2 separate regions of the Homo sapiens genome follow, and region 1 is linked to region 2. Evidence: promoter capture Hi-C in human tissues and cell types (Jung and others, 2019). All regions are on one chromosome and are shown on one strand. The core of a region is centred on a gene start or on the middle of the fragment in contact, and the rest is flanking DNA. Distances in the headings are between cores, read along the strand shown. Region 1 overlaps SLC39A14 (solute carrier family 39 member 14). Region 2 holds the start of PPP3CC (protein phosphatase 3 catalytic subunit gamma).

Region 1 (6,144 bases), core at 2,184-4,683, 33 kb after region 2:
GCCCAAGTTGAGGCCTCCCCTGCAAAGTGTTTGTCAGAGCCATGCAGAATTTTGAGATGGCACCAAGATGGTTCACATTCAACCAGGAAGAACAGGCAAGGCATGGCATCCCATCTGCTGTCTTTTCTGGGTGAGTCTTTTGACTGGGAAAGCCTGAGAAGCAGCTGACATGGGATCTTTGTGAAGGGCAGCATCCATGACTCCCTAATGGGGTCAACCACACGTCTGCGTATCCTCACCCTCCACAGCAGCATCCCTGCTTGAGCTAAAAAAGTGGGCAGACTGTCAACTTGGGCCTTATTTTTATAGCTCCTCTATGATAACAATTAAACAACAAAATTAACATTTCAAAACAGTCAAGTCAAGGTACCAGGAAGTCAGTCCTATCAGAAAAAAGTCAAGATGCAAGGTACAAAGGGCTGAGTGCCCCTTCCATTTATCTTGTCATTTTAATTTTGTTTGGTCTTAGTCTTTGTTCTGTGTTTGGCTCTCTATGCTAGAAACGATGGCCTGCTCAAAATTAAAGAACACTCGCTTTTTAGGCCAATTCTACATATCACTTGGTAACCTCTTTTCCTTCCATCTCATTCCAGATGGATAAGCTCTTGGTGCCCAGACCTGAGTACTGCCAGGATTTCTCCTTAGAATAGAGCAAGTACTTAGCACCAAAGGCATGGACGGCAGTCGATAGCTGCTGCTTTCCCTTGATGCCTTATGTATGGGGCTTAACAAGGGAGGGGAGACTGTCAAGTCCCCAGGAGGAGGGAAATTGGAAGAACCTTGCATCTGACAGCACCTGCAGAGGCCAGAGGAGTGAGAGGTGGGCCCTGAGATCCAGAGTTAGAAGTCGTTTGTGGCTTTGATACGAGGGACAGGTTCATTTCTCAGGTGGCAGTCATTGGGTGCCTTGGAGCCCAGGGTAGGGGAGGAGGGGATTGGCTCAGCTGTGCCGCCCCAGGGAAAGAGGACGCGCAAGTTTCTGTTCTACTGCACCTCTGGGATGAGCTGGAATAGCGCGTTAGACAGCAGCGTTCCAATGGACAGGGCGATGAAGTAAGTGAGCACACGGCTGAAAAACGCTTTCTCTGTGCAGGGCAGGACGAGGACTCCCAGGAGAGAGGCCAGGTTAATCAGTGAGACACTGAGAAAACCAAAGCCCCACACTGTGGAGGAACAAGAACAGACGAGGGCCTCTATTACTGAGGGTGGGGACACTCCTGCTGCCTGGGGCGGCCCTGTTCTGAATTCAGGTGTGATGGGGCAGACTGAGATCCACCAACCCATCAGTAAACATTTGCTGAGTCCATCTCTCACCAGATGCTGCGGAGAAGCCTAGGGAAACTATCAAAATTGCTATCCAAGAGAAACACCTTTTCCATGGAGAGACGGATGCAAACAGCAATGGAAGCCTAAAAACCATACAAGTAGGCCAGGTGCGGTGGCGCAAGCCTATAATCCCAGCACTTTGGGAGGCTGAGGAAGGTGGATCACCTGAGGTCAGGAGTTCGAGACCGGCCTGACTAACATGGTGAAACCCCATCTCTACTAAATACAAAAAATTAGCTGGGCGTGGTGGCGCGTGCCTGAAATCCCAGCTACTCAGGAGGCTGAGGCAGGAGAATCGCTTGAACCCAGGAGGCGGAGGTTGCAGTGAGCCGAGATTGCACCACCGCACTTCAGCCTGGGCAACAAGAGCGAAAGTCTGTCTCAAAACAAACAAACAAAAAAAACAAAAAAAGCCATACAAGTAAATAACGACAGCAGAAAACAGGGACTTGCAGTAACACAGACAGTATATTCCGGGTGCCGACACTCAGGCAGCACACGCCGGCCCTATGGGGCTTAGGGCTATCAGGGTGTACACTCACAGCTCGTGGCAAGCCCACTGTGGCTGGATCAGGGATACCGGGATAGGGAGGGGAAGAAGGATTCAGGGGCCAAGTGCAGCCTCCGGGAGGTCTTAAAGGAAAAACTATAAAACCAAAGTAGGCCAGGTATGGTGGCTCATGCCTGTGATCCCAGCACTTTGGGAGGCCGAGGCAGGAGGATCACTTGAGCCCAGGAGTTTGAGACCAGCCTGGGTAACATAGTGAGACCGTGTCTCTACAAAAAATTTAAAAATTAGCTGGGCATGGCGGTGCACGCCTGTAGTCCCAGCTACTCAGGAGGCTGAGGCAGGAGGGTCACTTCAGGCCAAAAGGTCAAGGCTGCAGTGAGCTATGATTGCACCACTGGACTCCAGCCTCGGAGACAGAGCGACATCCTATCTCAGAAAAAAAAAAAAAAAAGATTAAAAAAGCCAAAGGGTTGGGCCCCCGTGGTTCAACATGAAACAAAAAGCAGACCAAAAAGGGATCCATAGGCCGCTCAAGAAGTCCAACGCTCTGAACATTCGCCAGCTACGGCCCAGGAGTCTGACAATGTGCTAGGCCATCCTTGCAAAATACAAAAATTATCCATCCAATCATCGCTCCCGCTCCTGACACCGACAACCTCATCCTGGTCATCACTGGTGAGGCATTCAGTGAGGAGCAGCAGCAGCTCAGCCCAGGGGTCCTTGTGAGACGCGGGCGAGATGGGAGATGGGCTCCTGCCTTCCTGGCCTGGCTCACCTTCAACAGCGCTTGGCCGCCCCTCCTCCGTCTGCTCATTCTCCTCGTTTTCCTGGTTCTCCGAGGTGCAGGCCCGGGAATCCAGCTGCTGGAGGATGGTGGGGCAGAACTCCTGGAGCTCGCTGCTCCCAATCCGCGACTGCTCGCTGAAATTGTGGGCAGTGAAGAGGTCTCCAGAACTAAAGCACTGAAACACAGGAAGGGCAGGAAGCCGCTTAGACCCCAAAGGTCAGGCCTTGCCCTGCTAAACAGCAACCTACTCAGCCTTCCCAGAGGAAAAAGAGAAGACAGAAATGTCCAAATTTCAGGGAATTTGTAGATTCATCTAGTCTAGGGATGAGGGCAAGGTATTCCCTAAACTTAAAAAACTAGTAACTAATCCTTATGGCTCAGCCAGCCAGGAAAGTTACACATCATAAGCACAACCGTCGGTAAATGAGTGCCTGAGAAACTTTGGGAATGACAAGATTCCAATCATTGTCACCAAAGTGGCAGGGCACGGTGGCTAACACTGTAATCCCAGCACTTTGGAAGGCCAAGGCAGGCGGATCACTTGAGGACAGAAATTGGAGACCAGCCTGGGCAACATGAGACCCCTTCTTTACAAAAAGTTGAAAAATTAGTGAGGTGTGGCGGCACATACCTGTACTCTCAACTACTGAGGAGGCTGAGGCAGGGGGACTGCTAGAGCCCAGGAGTTGGAGGCTACAGTGAAGGAGCTATGATCACACCACTGCACTCCAGCCTGGGTGACAGAGCAACACCCTGTCTCTTAAAAAAAAAAAAAAAGCAAAATATTGTCACTAGGGTATAGTTTCTAGAAAACACCATTCTGGGGCCAGGTGCGGTGGCTCTCGCCTGTAATCCCAGCACTTTGGGAGACTCAGATGGGCAGATCACTTGAGGTCAGGAGTTCAAAACCAGCCTGGCCAACATGTTGAAGCCCCATCTCTACTAAAAATACAAAAATTAGCCGGGCGTGGTAGCTCACGCCTGTAATCCCAGCTACTCGGGAGGCTGAGGCAGGAGAATCACCTGAACCCAGGAGGTGGAGGTTGCAGCGAGCCGAGATCGCGCCACTGCACTCCAGCCTGGGCAACAGAACGAGACTCCATCCCCCACAAAACAAAAGAGAAAGAAAACACCATTCTGTGTGTGTGCCTGAAGATACAAGCTTCGTACCAAATCTGGCTGCACATCACAATAGCCCAGGGAGCTATTATGTTAAAATGCGGGTTCCAGCTACTTCTCTGAAGCTGAAATGTCTAAGGGCGGGGCTCTGCCAAAACTGTGGTGCTGCCCGATCAGCCCCACACATCCTCAACCATAGGACTGCCCTCAGCCTGAAAGACATATGTGTTCACAGAGGTTAGGGGAGGAAAACCTGAAGATTCAGGGAAGTGGGCCATGGCCGGCCAGCAGCCACCACACACAGTCACCTTGGGAGGCAGCAGGTAAGCGCTTCTCACGAACCGTTCCTGTGAAATCTGCAGCTCCACTTCTAATTATACTGTCTACACCTACATGCCAGGCCTTTTCTGAGTTCGGTCTCACATGGGCTTATCTCTGAGAGTCAGCCCTCTTGGTGTGCTCCCAAAATAAGTGCCTGCGCTTCTAAGGCTGGGGGCTGGACTCCCGCCACCCCGAGATGCTGCTGCTATCCTGGCGGGTCCTGAGGCTCACGCAGCTGCATTACCCCGCGGGGGCACGGGGGCGTGCTTGTCTCTGGCTCAGCATCTGATGTGCTCAGGTGTTCGCATCCAAGCCACGTGGTTCCCCCGTCCCTTTTTTTAATTTTTATTTTTTGAGATGGAGTCTCGCTCTGTCGCCAGGCTGGAATGCAGTGGCATAATCTCCGCTCACTGCGACCTCTGCCTCCTGGGCTCAAGCAATTCTCCTGCCTCAGCCTCCCAAGTAGCTGGGACTACAGGTATCTCCCGCCATACCCAGATAATTTTTGTATTTTTAGCAGAGACGGAGTTTCACCGTGTTAGCCAGGATGGTCTCGATCTCCTGACCTCGTGATCCACCTGCCTCAGCCTCCCAAAGTGCTGGGGTTACAGGCGTCAGCCACCGCGCCCGGCCCCGCTCCTCCCCCCCAACTTTTGAGGCCTCCACCTCCTGGGTTCAAGTGATTCTCTCACCTCAGCCTCCGGAGTAGCTGGGATTAGAGGCACCCACCACCACACCGAGCTAATTTTTGTATTTTTAGTAGAGATGGGGTTTCACTGTGTTGGCCAGGCTAGTCTCAAACTCCTGATCTCAAGTGATCTGCCTGCCTAGGCCTCCCAAAGTGCTGGGATTACAGGCGTGAGCCACAGTGCCCAGCACCCCCGTCCATTTTATCTCCACACTGCACTCATCTTTCAAGGGGCAGCTGGAGGACACCCCACGCTCGAGCCTTCCCTGATGACTGCAGCACACTCATCTCCCCCTCTCATTTCTGCATCCTACAATTACTGTCCAACCCACAAAATGCAATGCTTCATTTCAGTGCCTGCTGACTTTGTCCTCTGTTGGTTGAACTCCCCATCGTGACAGTCAACTCCCTAAATATGACTCATTTTTCTCTATTTCTCACAACACCAGCACAGGGAACAAAGTCGATATATAAAGATTTTGCTGGCTGACTTATATTTGGCTGCCACAAATAGCCCCAGAGTCTGATTAGCAGAGATGATATGGAAGAAAGAACACAGAATCCAAAGACCTGGCGTTCCAGCCCTGGTCTCTGCAGGGACTCACTGCGGGACCCTCGGTGTCCTCTCCTATAAAATGCAGATAATCTCACCTGCACCTTGAGGGACTGTGGGCTCACCCGGGATAGTGTGTAATGGACTCTGTCAATGGTAAACTCTATGAGAAATACCGTCCTGGGAGCCGTGTTTTCTCAGTATTTCTGAGTGACTCAAGTGCGGCGCTGAGGAAGATTCTGGGGGGCTGAGAACCCCACTTCCAGGCTGCCTTTTATTTTGTTTTGTTTTGAGACAGATTCTCGCTCTGTTGCCCAGGCTGGAGTGCAATGGCTCGATCTTGGCTCACTGCAACCTCCACCTCCTGGGTTCAAGCGATTCTCTTGCCTCAGCCTCCCAAGTGGCTGGGATCACAGGCATCCGCCACCATGCCTGGCTAATTCTTGTATTTCTAGTAGAGTTGGGGTTTCACCATGTTGGCCAGGCTGATCTCGAACCCCTGACCTCAGATAATCCACCCGCCTTGGCCTCCCAAAGTGCTGGGATTACAGGCGTGAGCCACTGTGCCCAGCCCCAGGCTGCCTTTTGTTAAGGGCTTCAGAACACCTATGCAGGGGGTCAGAAGGTGCTGCAGAAGACTCAGAATTTGCTGATTCAGACAATGAGAGAGAAAGAATCAGCCTGTCCACTCTATCATCGAGACTTGTCTGCCTCATCCTACCTCTGCCAAGCTGCCAGGCTGCCCTGGGCCCAACTAGACAGGGAACCCTGAGAGGCCAGAGACGGGGCTGAGCAGAGCTGCTGGCTCACAGGGGAGCCTTACCGTGGAGAGGTTCCTG
Region 2 (5,978 bases), core at 693-3,192:
TATCTGGTTTCCCTGCCTACTTCAGCTAAGACGTAGCAGATTAGAAAGCAGTTAAGGGCATATTTTGACAGAAAACAGTACTGGAGAGAGAAACTAAAAGCAAACAAAACACTGAACTGGTATAGCATTGCGAAGTCATTTTAGTACAGGACGAAACTGCTAACAACTTTATACAGCAGAACGCACCGGCCATATTAACAGCACAGTACAGAAATTAATGTACATAATGACCTTGATTCCTCAAAAAAGGTTATGTTAAGTACACTCTGAATCTTAAGAGAGGGCTATATACTTCTTATAGGCTATACACTAATAATATGAAGACACATTTAAATGGTCACAATAATTTAGCTGTTCAGGGGATAATGTCAGTTAGATGAACAATTCAGTTAAACCTCTAACGATAGCATACAAATGCTAAGCAGATAAATCTCAAAAATCCCATTATAATTATGTAGTACAGATAATTAACATTTATGAGGCTGATTTGGGGAGAGAGGGGGGAAACCTAAGTTATACACTAAAATTCTTCCCCCTCCCTGAACATGCAATAAGGCGTTTCACCTTTTAAAAATGTATTCCCGTCACTAGTATTAGTTGCCTTTCTCCTTCTAATACCAAAATGAAAAAGAAGAAAAGTATCTTAATAATTTTCCCCACTGTCACGCTAACCCCTGCATCCAGAGGCCACTAACACAGCTGGTCTAAGTCTATTCCCTTCTTACAAAATAGCGCTTTCAAACCGATTGTTAATCTCAGAGAGAAGGGTTGTGCCTAAGACTTACGGCTGAATAAAAGCAGCACATAAATTAGTGGTTATGTGTAATCCATCTTCTTAGTTTAAAGGGAGAAACAACTATAACCTAAAACTCTACAAGATTTAGAGAGCAAAGAGCCCTTTACATTTTGTTCTTATAACAACAACAGAAATCTAACGCAGGTACACATATGAATCAGAAAACGTCATTCTCCAAGTCTTTATAACCAAAGGGAAAATAAAATACCATTACCCTGTCAAGAGCTCCGTAAACTTATTTTAAACATCATATAATGGATTTATCTGACTTGTTCATACTAAGTTTATTCCAGTAATAGCAGTGACTTGCAATGATCTAGAGAAAGCGGGTCAAAAGGCACATGGTATACGTCCTAAAAAAGGGTGGGGGGCGGACGTCAAGAAAGATCTAATCTTAAATATCTTACTTGGAAGAGTCGACTCCCTGCTCACACCACCCCCGATGGCTTCCCCCGAGTCGTTTCTTAAAGAGAAAAAAAGACAGGGATCCGGGCCCTTCGGGGCGGTGGGAGAAGAAGTCCCCACTGCACCCTGAACCCTTCGGGAGGGAACTTGGCACTGACGGCCAGGCACCTGACCAGGTGCAGCAGAAAACGCCGGGTCCGGGTGGCTGCTCTCGGAGGCTGCCGCCCGGCTCTGTCTACACCCCTCCGAGCCCTCCTAGGGTGGGCGCAGCCCGGCCCCAGCCTCCCTCCGCCCCGAGCCGCCGCCCAGCCGAAGGCCGTTTCCCGCGGGTCCCAGAGGAAGGCCCGGCCCGCCAGGCACCTTTGATGACGCGGTCGGTGGTGGAGAGGTGGAAGCGCCTCCCGGACATGGTCCCCTCGGCCTCCTCCAGGCTCCAGGAGCCCGCCGGACGTGCGCCTACGCCGCGGCCGCCGCCTTCTCCTCGGGCAGCCTTAGCTGCCCGGAGCCGTCAGCCAGCCGTGCCCGGCCCCGGCTCCTCAGCGGTGTCCGAGCACCAGAAGGGCGCGGCCACCGCAGCGCCGGCCTCCGACGCCACTGACAGGACGAGGGCCCACCGGCCGCTCTCTTGGGAGGCGCCAGCGGCTAAGGCGGGGAACACCGCTTCGGCACCGACCGCGACCGCTGCTAAGGGTGGCGACCGGGACGGCCGCGGCTGCTCGCGGCCCGGGCCCTCGTGCACGCAAGCGCGCCCCCGAGCGCCGCTCTCACAACTTCCCAGCGGCCCCGCTGTCCTAGCGGACCCGGCCGGGCCTCCCGCCCCGAGCGCCGCCCTCCCCACCCTTCCGCCTTCCCGCGAGGCAGTAGAGCTCGGCGCACGCGCTGCTCTCGGCTCCTCCGGCTCCGGGTCCCTGCTGCTAACCGCCCATTTTCGCTTCTTCTCAGCCAGCCCTCCCCGCAGCCGGCCCCTTCTCTCCTGCCAGCCCCTACCCGGGCCCGGAACATCTGAAACCCGCCCGCGTGGCCCGCGCGACCCGCGCGGGAGGCCGGCCCGGCCATCTTGCGACCCGGCCCTGCGGCCTCGCAGCGGCTCCGCGCCGCCTCCTGGGACCGCCTCGCCGAGAACCCCTGGCCTCCCAGTCCTCGCCCACAGGCGACCACCCTCCTCACCTCTGGGTCTCCCACCCGCTTTGTCTCAAGGAGTGTGATCAGTCCGGCCGCGCTCCTTCAGTTTTTGTGGGTCATTCAACAAACGCACACATTTAAACCCCCTCGCTTCATCTTTCCCGCTTGTTGAGTGCAGTTAGTACAATGAGAAGGACATTCGTGTCCATCCTAGTTCCAGTCCAGTAGCTAGGGCGGTGGGGGATTGGGGGAGCTCCGTTTCTGAGCAAGGCTCTGCTCCCTCCTCACTTTCCACATCGAAGAGAAGGGAGATCTCTGCTCCTGGGACCCCCGGGCCGGACCTCCTCGGCCACAAGAACTGACCTCTTCCTATGCCCTGTGTGTCACCTGCCCAGCTAGAAGCCCCTTTTTTCTTCCCCCTGACACAGTACCTGCCTCCCCGGCCCAGGCTCACTGTGGAACCCCATGGGCAAGTCCGTAGAAACTTAACAGTCTGTTCATCTCGAGGTTAAAAACTAACCTTTATCTGTCCTTAAAACTGTAAGCCTAGAACAGAAACTGGCTCCAACTGTCCTCTCACTGAGTAACTGGCAAAGTCAAAAGGATTTTGACTTTTAGCAATGCAAATGAAATATTGAAACTGATGTCCAATAAAACATATGCAAGTTACAGGCAAAACCAGTCTTAACAATTACCGCAGTGACCGATAAGTAGTTGTAGCTATGTAAATTTAAATTAATCCCGTTCCTCTAGGGGACTAGCCACATTTCAAGTGTTCAAGAGCTACACGCGGCTACCTTATTGGACATCCAGAAAATTCTACTGGACAGCTGTTAGGTAAAAGATTATAGGATTAAGCGTAAATCTCCAATAATATGGATTTATGTATAGGCGGTCTGGGGATATATAGTGGAATCAGACCCTGAATTATCCCTTGGAATTTTGACCATAGCTCTTTGATGGTAACCGCAGGAGGCAAAAGGACTTTAGGAGCCGACTAGAATTTGGTTTTCGTTTTCATGATCCTTGAGTCTTCCACCCAAGAGAATTGTTCAGATATCCTGGGGAAACTCTTCATTTAAGAAGTAACCAGAACTCCACGCCTATCAAATCATACCCCTGGGTCAGAGGCTAAAATTCATCTGGAAGAACCTCAACAGGATAGCTAAAAATAAAAAGTTTAAGAAAACATTGCGGGCCGGCAAAAAAGAAAAAAAAAAAGACCGGGTGGGGTGGCTCACGCCTGTAATCCCAGCACTTTGGGAGGCCGAGGTGGGTGGATCACGAGGTCAGGAGATCGAGGCCATCCTGGCTAACACGGTGCAACCCCGTCTCTACTAAAAATACAAAAAATTAGCCGGGCGTGGTGGCAGGCGCCTGTAGTCCTAGCTACTTGGAAGACTAAGGCAGGAGAATGGCGTGAACCCGGGAGGCGGAGCTTGCAGTGAGCCGAGATCGCGCCACTGCACCACTCCAGCCTGGGCAATAGAGCGAGACTCCGTCTCAAAAAAAAAATAAAATAAAGAAAGAAAGAAGGAAAGAAAGAAAAAACATTGCGGGCCGGGCAAGGTGGCTCACGCCTGTAATCCCAGCACTTTGGGAGGCCAAGGCAGGCGGATCACCTGAAGTCAGGGGTTTGAAAACAGCCTGGCCAACGTGGTGAAACCCCGTCTCTACTAAAAATACAAAAATTAGCCTAGCGTGGTGGCACATGCCTGTAATCCCAGCTACTCGAGAGGCTGAGGGAGGAGAATCGCTTGAATCCGGGAGGCGGAGGTTCCAGTGAGCCAAGATTACGCCCCGGCACTCCAGCCTGGGTGACAGAGCGAGACTGTCTCCAAAAAGAAAAAAAGAAAAAGAAAACGTTGCAGGCCGGGCACAGTGGCTAATGCCTGTAATCCCAGCACTTTGGAAGGCTGAGGTGGGCGAATCACCTGAGGTCACGAGTTTGAGACCAGCCTGGCCAACGTGGCAAAAACTCATCTCTGCTAAAAATACAAAAATTAGCTGGGCGTGGTGGTGGACGCCTGTAGTCCCAGCTACTCGGGACGCTGAGGCAGGAGAATCGCTCGAACCCGGGAGGCGGAGGTTGCAGAGAGCCAAGATGGTGCCACCGCATTCCAGCCTGGGCACAGAGACAGACTCCATCTATCTCAAACACAAAACCAAAAAACCCCACAAATACTAACTCGTTCAATCCTCACACCAACCCCATTTATATGATTATCCCCATTTTACAGATAAGGAAACTGAGGCACAGAGATGTGAAGAAACTTGCCCAAAGTCACAGAGCTGGTAGGAGGCTTAGTGAACACCATCATCGTCAAGAGACGTGCAGTACCTGAACTTTTTCTATAGCACCACGAACTTTTTCTATAGCACCACGTGGAATATGCGGCATGAGTCCTCAAGCATGGTATACATGAATTTACAGAATCCAGATGTCATTCTGTAGCTTGGCTTTAGCAAAGTAATTGTGAGCAACTTGCAGCCCTGTCCCTTCGTGTCCCCACCCCCACTTTTTTTTTTTTTTTTTTTTGAGACGGAGTCTCGCTCTGTCACCAGGCTGGAGAGCAGTGGCGTGATCTCAGCTCACTGCAAACTCCACCTCCTGGGTTCAAGTGATTCTCCTTCCTCAGCCTCCCAAGTAGCTGGGACTACAGTCGCATGCCACCACACCCAGCTAATTTTTTTGTATTTTTAGTATTTTTAGTAGAGATGGGGTTTCACCATGTTGGCCAGGGTGGTCTCGATTTCCTGACCTCGTGATCTGCCCGCCTCGGCCTTCCCCACCCCTTTCTAAGGAGATTCACTCAGTAGCTCTGCCTTTCTCCAAGTTCCTTGCTGGTCCTCTGTTTCAATAGCTGCTTAGTCTTCCAGCAACAGCCAGTGACACCCAACAGACCTTGATACCATCACTTCCAGCTGTGGGCATGGGTAAGTTCCTTCACTTCTCAGGCCTTGCTTTCCTCTTTTGTAATATGGGGATGATAATATTAATAGGCCCTCCCTGTAGCAGAGGCGGGGATGCCCTGCCCAGATCCCCTTCACCATGAGGGATAACCATCTTCTGGTTGCTGCTGTTTTTGTTTTTGTTTTTGTTTTTGTTCTAAGAGAGAGATGAGGTCTTGCTCTGTTGCCCAGGCTGGAGTGAAGTGGTGCCATCATAGCTCACTGAAGCCTTGAACTGCTGGGCTCAAGTGATCCTCCTGCATCGGCCTCTCAAAGTACTGGGATTATAGGCATGAGCTACCGTACTCTGCCTGTTTCTTGAGGGCTGGTGGCTGACAGTTCATTGCTGCCCCTTCTCCAGAGAATTGCCTTAGGTTGAATGGGCGCCCCTTCCCCTAAGGAGTTATGACCATCCCTCCCCCAGTCCTAGGGGCAATGGCTATCAGGGCCTCCAGGTCAGACTAAGTTTGCCTCAAGGTAAGAATATCTTTGTGGTACAACTCAGGCTCCAGAGCTTGCTGTGAGAACAGACTGAACTATAGGAACACATTAAATGAGGTTCATTTTATTTGGATGTTATGAGATGGCCCCAACTTGAGATCTAAATACAGTAGTCGGTTAATTTTTCCATTACTATTATTGAATAATACATCCCTTCCCATTGGTTTGCAATGTTTTCTTTTCTTTTTCTTTTCTTTTCTTT

What was found. Contacts are between HindIII fragments. The study calls those that stand out against the background at their distance.
Region 1: a contact is called between a fragment that was not itself captured here and the fragment with the promoter of PPP3CC in region 2, in 1 of the 25 tissues and cell types used here (bladder).

Annotation. Positions count from the first base shown.
Region 1 is chr8:22,404,965-22,411,108 of GRCh38, reverse strand. SLC39A14 (solute carrier family 39 member 14) reads right to left here. Exons shown (of 9, transcript NM_001128431.4): 2 at 6,129-6,144; 3 at 2,613-2,799. Among named protein-coding and RNA genes, the nearest start is that of PPP3CC, 33 kb to the left of the region's middle. The HindIII fragment of the contact is 6,539 bases long and covers 164-6,144 here.
Region 2 is chr8:22,437,042-22,443,019 of GRCh38, reverse strand. PPP3CC (protein phosphatase 3 catalytic subunit gamma) reads right to left here and starts at 1,942. Exons shown (of 14, transcript NM_005605.5): 1 at 1,562-1,942. The coding sequence starts at 1,610. RefSeq lists silencers at 1,420-2,079, 2,170-2,359. The HindIII fragment of the contact is 20,414 bases long and covers 1-5,978 here.